Linked DNA regions of Homo sapiens: region 1 is linked to region 2. The links are contacts of gene promoters, found by promoter capture Hi-C in blood cells and fetal thymus (Javierre and others, 2016). All regions are on one chromosome and are shown on one strand. The core of a region is centred on a gene start or on the middle of the fragment in contact, and the rest is flanking DNA. Distances in the headings are between cores, read along the strand shown.

Evidence for each region. The method cuts DNA at HindIII sites, captures the fragments that hold promoters and counts their contacts. A CHiCAGO score of 5 or more calls a contact.
Region 1: a fragment that was not itself captured here is called in contact with the fragment with the promoter of GRID1 in region 2 in 4 of 17 cell types (M0 macrophages, M2 macrophages, M1 macrophages and 1 more); the score reaches 20.7 in M0 macrophages.

What each region holds. Positions count from the first base shown.
Region 1 is chr10:86,100,232-86,106,613 of GRCh38, forward strand. The region is part of intron 4 of GRID1 (glutamate ionotropic receptor delta type subunit 1); the gene reads right to left. Among named protein-coding and RNA genes, the nearest start is that of MIR346, 160 kb to the right of the region's middle. RefSeq lists an enhancer at 4,313-4,813. The HindIII fragment of the contact is 6,346 bases long and covers 510-6,382 here.
Region 2 is chr10:86,365,115-86,371,280 of GRCh38, forward strand. GRID1 (glutamate ionotropic receptor delta type subunit 1) reads right to left here and starts at 1,681. Exons shown (of 16, transcript NM_017551.3): 1 at 1,200-1,681. The coding sequence starts at 1,278. RefSeq lists silencers at 990-1,139, 1,170-1,369, 1,600-1,649, 1,670-2,059, 2,170-2,379. The HindIII fragment of the contact is 11,562 bases long and covers 1-4,891 here.

The sequences.
Region 1 (6,382 bases), core at 2,433-4,932, 260 kb before region 2:
CCAACAGCATGCAGGCTGTAGAATATAAGAGCCTCCAATTACCGAGCACTTCTTGTGTGCAGGACTGTATTTGAAACATGTCTCATATATCATCTCAATAAATTCTTAGCATAACCCTATTCAATCATTTAGTCAAATATCTACTGAGCATTTTTCTTAGGTGCTGGAGATATAGGATTAAAAAAAAAACAAATAAATGTCCTTGTGCTCTGGTGAAACTTACACTCCAGTGAGTGGAAGACAGAAACTAAACAAGATTAATCAATGAAATGTATAATAAGTTATACAGTCAGGAGTGTTAGGAAAGCAATAAAGCAGAGAGGAGGGAGAGAAAATGGCAAGCTGGGGGCTAAAGTTTTCACAGGTTGGTCAGAGAAGCCCTCATTGGGAAGGTGATGGGGACTGTTTGGATTATTGGTAATATTCACTCCCCTCCCTGTAGGTGGCGTATACTGCACAGCTTGACTTGCTGTAGCCAATGGGATGTTAACTGGCATAGCACAAGCAAAAGCTTGAAATGTGCACACGCAGGACGTGTCTTCTTGTGCTTGTGCCATGGCCAAAAGAGAGTGTCTCTTGGGTAGCTGCTGCTCTTCCAATCTTGGCCTTGCCGAGATGCTGGCAAACAGACCCACAGCTGGAAGCAGAGCCCACCAAGCCCAGCCTGGATGAGGCACCTCCACCAACCTGTAGGGTGCATGAGATGCTGGATTCCAGTGAGACTTGAGGCTGTTTGTTATGCACCATTAAATGGTCACTGGTGACTGATAGGGGGACTTTTGGGTAAAGACTTTAAGGAAGTGAGAGAGAAGGGGCTCGTGACTATCTGGAAGTCGATTTTTCCAAGCAGAGAGGAAAACAAGTATAGAGATCCATATGCAGGGGTCCACCTGGCATATTCATGGGACAGCAAGGTAGCCTGGGTGGCTGGAATAACAGATCCAGGAGAGGAGCAGCAGGAGGTGACATCAAAGAGAGGATGAATCAGGTAAGATGTTAGAGGTTGAATGACCGTATAATTTATCACCCTAACTAGGACTTGTTTTTTAAATCAAAGTGTAATTTACATAGCAAAATGCATTATTTTGAATGTATAATCTTATGAGTTTTATAAACTTAGACAGTAATGTAACCAACACCATAATCAAGATACGGAACAGCTCCATTGCCCACAGCAATTCCTTATGGCTCTTTGTAGTGAATCCTCCTATCCCTAGGCCTGGAAAACACCAATGAGTTTTCTGCCCCTATAGTTTTGCCAATCAGGAACATCACATAATTGAAATTATGGAGTATGAGGCCTCTTGAGTGCAGCTTCTGTCACTCAGCATATGCTTTTGAGAATTATCTCATGTTGCTGTATGTAACAGGAGTTTGTTCCTGGTTTGTTTTTCATTATTCCTTTTTTTTTTTTTTTTTGAGACAGAGTCTCACTCTGCTCTGTTACCCAGGCTAGAGTGCAGTGTGGTGCAATCATAGCTCACTGCAGCCTCAATCTCCTTGGCTCAAGAGATCCTCCCACCTAAGCCTTCTGAGTGGCTGGGACTACATGGCATGCACTATGCCTGGCTTGGCTAATTTTATTTTATTTATTTATTTTTTTGTAGAGACAGAGTCTCATTATGGGGCTCAGGCTGGTCTCAAACTCCCTTTTTAATGCTGAATAATATTCCATTGTATGGCTGTACCACAGTTTGTTATCCATTCACCAGCTGAAGGACATTGGGATGGTTTCCAGTTTGCGGTTATTACAACAAAGCCGCTATAAGCATTCACAAAGAGCAAACCAGGATGATTCTGAGAACGAATATTTCTTCTGGAACAAAAGGCATAAGTGGGGACCATCCCTCATAGACCAGGAAGTGTGTTCGCCCTGCTTTGTCCACACAGGGACTCCAGCTATAACCCCAGTGAGACAGGAAGACTCTGAGCAGGGTAATGACATGATCAGCTAGAATTTTAACAGGCCACTCTGGCTGCCTCAGAATGACAAGCTGCATGGAGCAAGGTGAGAAGCAGGAAGGCAGGTCAGGAGGCTGATGCCAGCAATGGCTTAGACCAGGGACATAGCCATTGGGGTGGTGAGAAGTAATCAGAATCCAGACACATGGTGTCAGAACTGCTAATGGACTAATTATGAGGGGCATGAGGAAGAAGCAGCAAAGACAGCATCAAGATGTTGGGCCTGGGCAGCTGAAGAAAGGGTCACAGGCCCATTTCACAGAGATGGCTTAGTGTGGACAAGGCATTACCCCATGCCCACTCATTGACAGGGAAAACTGGGGCTGGTGTTCCAGAGCCCTGCCCGGCGCTGCCACACCATTTGCTTTATGTTAAACAGAGAATAATCATTCTTCCTCTAAGGAGGAATGCAGGCCTGATCCCCACAACATAAATGTGCCCAGTCCTGGAAAGGCCCTACCTGGGAGCAGTGCCAAGAGGCCCAGGGGACGGGAGCCAGGCCTCCCCAGCCATGTGGAACCGTGAATCTATTAAACCTCTTTTTCTGTTCAAAACCAGACTGCGAGGCCTATGGAAGGGCAGGTGATATGGTTTGGCTGTGTCTCCACCCACATCTCATCTTGAATTGTAGTGCCCATATTCCCCACATGTCATGGGAGGCACCCAGTGGGAGGTAATTGAATCATGAGGGCAGGTTTTTCCCAAGTTGTTCTTGTGATAGTGAATAAGTCTCATGAGAACTGACAGTTTTATAAAAGAACAATTCCCCTGCAGACGTTCTGTTGCCTGCTGCCATGTAAGACATGCCTTTGCTGCTCCTTCACCTTCTGCCATGATTGTGAGGCCTCCCTAGCCATGTGGAACTGTGAATCCATTTAACCTCTTTTTCTTTATAAATTACCCAGTCTCAGGTATTTCTTCATAGCAGTATGAAATGGGCTAATACAGCAGGAAAGCAAGAGGACAAAGTCAGCATGGGCAAGCAGAAGGGGCTGGCAGCTATGACCACACCCCTCACTGGTCAGCCCACTAAGCCCCTGTGTGCAACAGAGGTGGAGCCAGGATAGAGGACAGCACCAGAGTCGGCTGCCACTCTGCCACCTGAGGCTGACCTCCTGGGGCCAGAGACCAGAGCTGGCCATCAATTCCCTATAGGGCCCAGGTGGGGAATTCTGAGGCCCTCAGTCATTCCCTGTGAGCCTGTGATGAGGCCCGCAGTTCCCTGCCACCCTCTCAGCCTCAGCTTAGTGCCCAGGGCTAGATTCACATTATGCCATGTAAGGAGGCTCAACTGCACCCCCAGGCCACAGGCCTAGGCTCCCCCAAGCAAGCGTCAGCCATGGGAGCTGGAGCCCATGTGGACAAGCAGTGAAACTGCAGACAGGCCCCGGAGGAAGAGGACTCCCGATGCTGCTTATGTAATGCCTTCTTAGGGGACAGGAACAGGCTCCCCTTCATTCCACAGCATCTCACGTTCTGCTCCAGCCATGGCTCTTAAACGTTTGCCACAGTGGGGGGCCCTTAGGAAAGGTGTGTGCCTTGTACCTCAAGGGTAGCAAGGACAGAGGGTAAGGCCACCCTGGGACACTGCCCACCTCCCCTGGCCCAACCATGTCACGAGAGAGAGAGAGAATCATTACTAACCACTGTTGGGCTGAACCCTGCACATGGGGCAATCAATCAGTCATCCAGTGACAGATGCTGGGCACAGCCCTCATGGTGTTGCCTCCCAATCTCATTCATCACAACTGTTCCTCCTGGCCTCAGGAGGACAGCTCCCCCTGCCGCACTTCCCTCATAAGCATGGCTCTCTGATGTGGCCTTCAGACTCTCTTCAGCTACACACATGTGTAAGGGTGCACATGTGCATACTTGTTCCAGTCTGGCAGAGAGGTAGGTGCCTTATCCCACGGGGTAGGCACCACTCCACTCTCTGCCCACCCTGTTCTTTAACAAGAACAGGCTTGGAGACATACGGACCAGGGTTCAAATCCAAACCTGGCAGGTAGAAGGGGCTAGTTCCTCTTGCAAAGCTGCTGGCCAGCCCAGCTCAGAGCTCAGGGTGCAGTTGGGACCCCAGACCCAACCACGCCTGCTCTGTGAAGTTCCCTCCAACTCTGGAAGCCAGGCCTCAGCAGGTGCAGGGGTGGCCAGACACCCACGAGAAGGCCCGGCACAGGCATCCCACACCTGTTTCCTCCAACCCACGAGGGGCACAACTCACACCCACTTGCTTAGCCAGGGCATAGGATTCCCTCCCAGGGTAAAGGTCCCTGCTGCAAGGATGGCCCAGACAGGTGCATGCCCACCATGCTCAGTGCTTCACAAGGCCCCCAGCCCTAGCTGGCAGCAGACAGGCAGCATGACACAAAGGGAGCACCAGCTCCTCTGCGGCCAGAGAACATTTCCATGCCATACATCAGGGGCAATCCTCGGCAGACTGAATGCCCAGAGTCATTCCTGCCTTGTTCCATAGGGCCTGGCCCAGCTGCCCCACCCTCCAGGCCCTCAGGACCACAGGGCTCTGCCTCTGTCCCTTCAATGTTGGACACAAACCCACACCCTAGCATGCACCATGGTCAGGTCCAGCTGAATTCAGCCTGGTATCTTATTCCCAGGACCCGGCCTGAGACAGTGCACTGGACCTTCATGCATGGCCGATGAAGTGCCTAGGGTGTGCGACAGCGGACAGGGGGGCAAAAGGTACAGCATTGAGAGCAGGAAGCCAGTGAAGCCTGCAGCAGGTGACAAGGCTGTGACAGGCCTCGTGCCCCCATGTGCCTCCACTTGCTGTGGAGATTAATTCACCTGACAAATCAATCCTACCCACTTCTGACTTCATTACATAGTCACATAATTACACACAAGTTTGGGATTTTTAAGGAAGTGATTTACGGTGGCTCTGAAGATCTGGACAGGGTTAGTGCCATCCTCTTTCCCAGGAAGTTGGAGAAGCACTTTTCAATTTAACGAGCCATGTTTTCTCAAGAACTGTTACCCCAAATACCTGAGGAAAGAGCTGCATGAAATAGGCACTGGGATAGCTTCAGTCTGCCCAAGAAGACAGTGAGGGTGGGCAAGGTTATGCCTGTCCATTAAGGCCTGGAGTGTGCCCACCACAGAGACCAGGAAACTGAGGCCCAGAGGGTGTAGCGCTCTGGCCAAGGTCTCACAGTTGTGGAGCACAGAGCCGGTCAGAAGCATGGTCTGTCTGTTACAGATGCCCTGTTTGATTCTGCACCACGCTATCTCTTCAGAACACACAGCACTGGCTGTTCTTGCCTCCTGTGGCTCTCACACAATTCCCACACTTGAGTCCTAGCCTTCTGAGGCACACATCTAGATTGGGTGGGGAACACGCTCTTCAATGAAAGCAGAGCCCTAGGGGCCAGCTGCCCCTCCCCAGCAGTGTCCGGGGCACACGGAGCCTTCATTCCCCATTCAGCAAGCACTGAAGCCTCTTCTGTGTGCCAAGCACCAGAGCCGGCACTGTGGAGAGAAAGATGCCATCCCCCCTCTCCAGCAAAGGTTGGAATCTAGGGGAGAGATTGACATCAGTCAAATAAGCCTGTGACAGACAGATCATTGCAGAGTGAAGTCTGCACCCTGAGGGAAAAGCACGGGCACTGTGCATGTGTCTAACTGGCCTGGGCACCACAGGTCACCCAGGAATGCTGCCCTGAGGAGCCGCGATGGGGAGAGGAAAATGATGGTAGAGTTAGCATGGTATGCAAGGGGGACAAGAGGATGGGGGCTGCTTCAGGGAGAGGAAGCCTTGTGAGAGAAGATGTTGGAAAGGCCAGTGTTCCCAATTGCAAAGGAGGATGATGATATCCACTGCTCAGCATGGCAGTCAAGACCACGGTCTTGGGGACCATGAGCTCCAGGGTCTGAGAGCTCCCCAAGTGTCTGTCCTTCCCTGACCCTTTGCTCCTGCTCTAGGAAATTTCCTGTCAGCAATAATCCAAATGAGAAAAATCAAACACTGCACATGCAGGTTTACACTGAACACCGTCAAAAAAAAATTGAAGATTGGAAACAGTCACAATGTCCAACAACAGGAAACATTAGGTAGGGTATGCAATAACAATTCTTCATCTCAATGCAATCACTAAAAATGACGATTAGAAAGGCTTTGCAACCACACAGGAAATGTTTATCCCAGGATGTTAGGTCAAAAAAGCAAAACACAAAATCTCATCTAGATTATGGGATGGAGGGAGGGGCCAGCTTCAGGTGTGGGAATACAGGGAGGTTCTGGCTTCAGGTGTGGGGATGGAGGGAGGGGCCTGCTTCAGGTGTGGGGATGGGAGAATGGGCCTGCTTCAGGTGTGGGGATGGGAGAATGGGCCTGCTTCAGGTGTGGGGATAGAGGGAGGAGCCTGCTTCAGGTGCGGGGATGGGAGGAGGGAGCCTTGAG
Region 2 (6,166 bases), core at 431-2,930:
AGCCGGCGCCGCAATGCTGACCGCGAGACCCGCACCCCTCCAGGGCGGGAAGCAGGTTTGGTCACGGGCCCCTGAGGAGGAATCGTAGCTCTCCGAGCCCAGGCCTAGTCCTCACCACCCCACTCCACCACCCACCCTCCCGCCTTGTCCCGTCCTCCTCGCCTTCAACACCTCCCAACCCCCAGTTTCCCTGTGCTCGCTGGTCTTTCCCAACTTCCGGAAAGACGACTGCGGAGGGACTCCCCCAAAGCGACCGCTGTCAGCCCCCCAACTCGGCCCAACTTCCCGAGATTCCTCCCGTGTTGCTCCCAACTCCCACCCACTCCCCCTCGGCGCGCCCACTCCCCCTCGGCGCGCCCCCTCCTCCTCTGCGCTTTCATCTTCTCTCCCGGTTCTCTCTCTCTATCCATCTCTTCCCGCTCAGCATCCCCCTACCCCCCGCTGCCCACGCTTCTTCCCTCGGCTCCCACCACCCAGACCGTCTGGGCCCCCAAGACTTGGACCACGCAAAACTCTAGGACTGTCCAGGATGGGGATGCAGTCGCCACAACCAGATACACACGCACTCACACATACACCAAGGGCTACACAGACACACACCGGAGAAGCAGGCAGACACTGTGTCCACTCTAACAGGCTGACAGACAGTCGTGCACGCACCAACACACGCTCAGATGGCCCCACACACCCCAACACCCTCTCACAGTAACACCGACACCGTGCCAGGCGCACACAGCGACACACGCTGACAACACGCACCCACACACATTCACACACGGTTCCGGTCCGGCCTCTTTGATCTTGCCCTGCCAACTTGGCGAGCCCCCCGCTGTACCTCCCCCTGCCCCCCGCTGCTCTGAGCTGCGCAGAAGGGCCCTCCCGACCCGCCGACGGCCCCGCTAAGGGCGCGGGTCTCGACGCGCGTCCATCCCGGTGTTCCCCGAAGCGTCGGCCCTAAGTGTCGGTAGAGGCCGCGGGGCCCCGCGCGGAGATCGGAGCCCCGGGGAGCGGCAAGCAGCCAGCGGGAGCGCGGCGCGGCCGGTGCACAGCTCCTCCGCCGGGCGGCGCGGCGCGGCCCTTCGGGGGAGCACCGCCCGCCGAGCCCCTCGGCCCAGGGAAACGCCAAGTTTGGACGCCGCGCACCCCCTGCCCCGTTGGGGCCCCCGCCCAGCCTCGGCCCGGCCTCCAGCCGCGCTTACCGATGTGGATGATGGAGTCGGCCCGCACCGACACGCACTGGCATATCCAGGGGAGAAGCCACAGCGTCAGCGCTTCCATGTCCCCCGGGCGCGCGGCTCATCCACCCGGGCCCGGGGCGAGGCCGAGGGCAGCGCGAAGCGGGGAGGCGCTGGTCCCGGTGCAGTCCCGGGCCGCTCCCCGGGAGAGCCGAGCCCGCCCGTGCGTCTTCCCCCGCGCGCCCGCCCCTGCGCCCTGCGCCCGCCCCAGCCCAGCCCAGCCCAGCCCAGCGCGGTCGGGCTCCCGCTCCGGCTCCGGTGGCGGCTGCGGCGGTGCTGGCAGCTTGAGCCCAGGCCGGCGCGGCGGGGGCGGCCCGCGGCTGTGGCAGCGGCGCTTCCCGCGGCTAGAGCGGCTTCGGGGGAGGCTGAGGCGGTGGCGGCGGCGGCCGGGCCGGCGTGGCGGCTCTGGGCTGGCTGTGTGTCTGAGCCCCGGCGAGGAGCGAACTGCGGAGGACGCCCCCTCCCCTCCCCCTCCCCCTCAGCTCCGCTCCCCCTCCCCTCCCTGCCCGCCTCCCTCCCCTCCGCCCGCCTCTCTACCACGTGACTGCGGAGCCTCAGCCTCGCCGCGCGGCTCTCGCCCGCTCGCGGCTCGGAGGGGGCGCCGGGTGCTCCACGCTCCCGGCTCGGGGGACGCTCGGAGACCGGCACAGCGGCGGGGACCGGCCTGGGCTGCGGCGCGCCGAGCTCTGACGGTTCGGGCCTCCTTCTCCGGTTCGCCAGGGGCGGGAGAATGGAGGAGGGCCGGCCGCTAACTGCCCTCGAGGGGCTCCCGAAGCGCCCTGGCGACCTCAGCAGCCGCGCGTCTCGGGTCATGTCCCCGGCCGAAACAGACCGTTCCTCGTGGAGTGGGACCTGGGGAGCAAGAAGAGAGACCGGGGCGGGGCGCCGGGCCAGGCCCCAGGACAGCTGGGGAGCCAGAGGGGGCCGGCCGCCGCAAGCATCTCAGAGTAGAGCCCGGGCCGTGGGCTCGAACCCTGGCTGGCCGCGCGGACCTCGGCGGGCGCCCATCCCCCGCTCCATGGGCAGCGCGCTCAGCCGGGAGTCGGGCAAGAGGCTCGGACTCTGAAGCCCAATTCATGGCCGGAAACCAGCGCAGCCGTGACCGCGGCGCCTGGACGTGAGGAGCCTTCCAAGCGGCCGGCGGGCTCAGACTCCGACCCTGCACGGAGCTTTCATGTGCGAGCCCGGGCGAAGAGCCCGCTCCTCGCGGCCACAGCGGAACAGGGCTCCCTCCGCCTCCGGTGCCTGCCTCGGGCCGGCCACCACCAAAGAGAGCGTTAAGCTGTTGTGGGCTCGTGCCTGAAAGGGACTGGGCTCCATGTGGCACCCCCAAGATTTCGAGGAGACAGCTGAGCTTCCTGGGGTCTGGGACCTGGCAGAGCCTCGTTCAAAAGCTGCTCCTCCAGCAAGCCTGGGAACGTCCCCGGGCCCTGTTGTCCGCGGAGGGGCCCCAGGACTCCCGCCACGCACCAGGGGGAGAGGCTCCCACCACAGCCCTTGCCCAGAGCTCCCAGCGCAGTGGGCGAGGCAGACACCCAACCAAGTCATCTTTTAAATGTTGGGGGGGGCTATGAATGAGCTGTGTATGCTCAGATGCCTGGGCTCTGAACCAGCCTGGGAAGAAGAGCAGGGATGACTTCCTGGAGGAGATGACAGTTGTAAAGACTGAGTGGAGGTTCCCAAGGGAGAAAATAAGGCTTCCAGGCATTGAATAGTGGTGAGCCAAGGCAAAAAGAAAGAAGTGTGTGTCTGTATGTCTGTCTGTCTCTCATGTGGCCAGAGCCAAAGAGTAAGCATTGGTAGATTTCACTTTGGAAAGAAAGATTGGAGAGGATGGGCTGTGCAGAGGGGGCCAGTGGAGGCCCATAGCACTGTGAGGGAACCCTGGGTGGGCCAGCTCAGCTGGGCAGGGACAGCCTGTTGGAGCGGAGAAGCTGGATTGCAGAAGTATCAAGGAATCCCATGAGCCAGCAAGGTGACTTCTAGGTTAAGGAGGCCAGGGGGCAAGAAGAGAGGAGTGGTCATATGTCATACTTGCCCATGGGAGTGGCTGAATGTGGTCCTACACACACACACACACACACACACACACACACACACACTTCTTCCAAAAACCTGTCTTAGGGTCCTTGAGTAGTGAAACCTGACCCACCCCGCATCTCAAAACCCTCTACACCTCTAATTCTTATTCCTGCAAAATTCTACCATTCACTGGCTGAAATGCTGTAGGGAGAAGAGAAATAAATGATGAGTTTTATTATACATCAGTTTGGTTCCTACGGGGACTGTCTCCACCTTGAAAGGATGGTGGGTGTGGTCTTGACCTGAAGTCCCTGTGGGTCAGGGACTCTCCCCGGGCCTCCTGTTGTTGGGGGTTCTCCAGTGTGTTAGTACAGTGGGCATGTGATATACCCAGTTAGAAGTTTTTCTTTGATGTATGTTTTGCTAGGTGTAGGTAGCATGATTTCAGTGGGATAAGTATTAAGACCTCCTTCCAAGTATTAAGAAGACAACCCACCAACACATAGTTGTGGAATGATTTCCATCAAGTTCCAGTTTGGATGATGAGGTGGGTGATGAGGTTCCTGTGGCTTGGCATCTGAGGATCATGACTCAAGGTGGATCTCATCTGGAAGTTGTTGACCTGGGGCAACCTCACCTTCTGTCCTGGGTGCCTCCTTCCTCTCCAGCTTCCAGGGCGTGTGGTAGTCTGCCATCCCCATATGCTCATTCCCAGATCCTCACCCTGGGACAGTCCACTCAGCCAAGCCAGTTTTCCTATCCAGGCTAGAATCCCCTGGACACTGTAGGCAGCGTGGTGACTGTAGGCACTTGCTCAGCTCCTGTTCCTCACAGAGCTGGAAGGCAGGCCCAGAGACCACTGGGGACCTGTACAGACTCACCTTGAGGCAAAATGTGTTTAATCCTCTGCCACCTAAAGTTGGAGTTGCCAGGTTCCAGGGGCATTGGATGTTATTGGTCAGTTGCTCAGACTCATCAAGCCCTTAACAGTTTATTGCTCCTGGCCCAGCTATTCTTGGCCCAACACCCTTATCCCTGATAGCCTCTGGGGCTGCAAATGCTGCCTCTCCAAACCAGGGGAAGCAACTCTACCCAATGAACAAGTTCACCCCTAATGCAAGAATCTAGCTGGAGAAGATAGATTAGAAATCTCTGGGTCATATGACACACATCCACTTCAGAGAGAGAAAAACTGAGGCCCAGAGAAAGGCATCAGGTGAGTTGCTGGCAGGCCCAAGGCTCAGTCCTCTTGGTTTGCTCCTCACTACACAAAGGTGTATTCACAGAAATTAAAACTGAGTCAGTAAATCTTTCTTTTACACAAGCTCAGCCAGCACAGGTGACTGCTTTTTCTAAAGAGTTCTTCAGTTTTACTGATTCTAATTACTTTTCTTTAGCACTTACCACATGCAGGCACTGTGCTCACCACCTGACATCTTACCGAGGAGATGGTCATCCCATTTTACACACAAGGAAATTGAAGGAGGGTGCAAAAAGATAAAACTGGGCTCATCAGGAATCTCAACTGAAACAACACTGGACGCTAGTAGTTGGCCACAGAAGCTGTAGATGAAATGTCAAGGCAGAGAGAGGCCTCAGTGGTCTACTTGGAAGCTACAATCATTGTGACTTAAAGCTTTGTCATTCCAGAAATGCAGACCTTTCCTTTCTCCATTGCCTTCTTTCTCACCCCATCCAAAAGCTGGACTAAGGAAAAGCCAGCTGGAGTCCTGGCCCTCCAAGTGACCTGCCTCCTGGGCACAATCCTGAGGAGCTGCCTGCCTGATGTGGAACCACCAGTGCCCAACCCCTGCAGAAGTGCCCCTCCTGAACCATGCGTCTCCAGGGAGGGCCCAAAAACTCTATCTTCCTCATTCCCTCCTCAGCACAGAGCCCACCAGTGATATGGAAGACAATTCGGCCCAGGCCCTGCCTGCAAAGAAAGATCAAGTCCAAGCCTGGGGAATTCTCTGCAGGCTTTGGCATGGAACCCAGCTGTCCCGTGTACACAGGGTGGAGGCCAACCCAGGTCTTAAGGTCAAGCCCCCAGGGAAGAGTCTGTAGGCATCTGGGAAGGGGTCTTGCTGCCAGCCTCATCCGTCACTACAGGCTCCAGGGAACCCACTTTCTGCCAAGATCCAAGCTCAGAAAATCTCACTGCTGCCTTCCTCTCTTAACCCATTGGGTTTTTCCTGTTTTCAATTTTTTCTTGGAGACAGGGTCTTGTTCTGTCACCCAAGCCGGAGGACACTGATGTGATCATGGCTCACTGTAGCCTAGACCTCCTGGGCTCAAGCAATCCTCCCACCTCAGCCTCCTGAGTAGCTGAGACCACAGGCACATGGTACCATGCCCAGATAATTTTCTTCATTTTTTGTAGAGATGGGGTTTCACCATGTTTCCCAGGCTGTCTTGAACTCCTGGACTCAAGCAATCCTCCTGCCTCGCCTCCCAAAGTGCTGAGATTACAGGTGTGAGCCACCACGCCAGATTTGTTTTTTGGTTTTTTTTTAAAACACCCTTGTTTATTGCTTATTTCGTCTGTTCTCCCAGCGCTGTGTTGGCTCTTCAGTTGAATGTGAATTCTCTGTCTCTACTTTGTCTTCCTTACTACCCTTTCTTGCCAACCTCTTTCATCTTATTTTTACTGTTTCTCAGCTTGTATTTATTTTATGTGATGTTCTTTTATATTACTGTATTTTTTAGTTTACTTTTACTCTTGGTAGCCTCGTGGGTTGTTACTTTAAATTTCCCAGGCCAGCAATCTTTTGCATTGCTCATTCTATTAATTCGAGACTTCTATTGATTCATTCCTTGGTTTTCCCGAGGTTAGGGAGAAGGAAAATTCCAGCACCAGCTTGCCTCAGCCACCAGGGCAAGACCCACTGTTATGCCCCTTTGCACCCTTC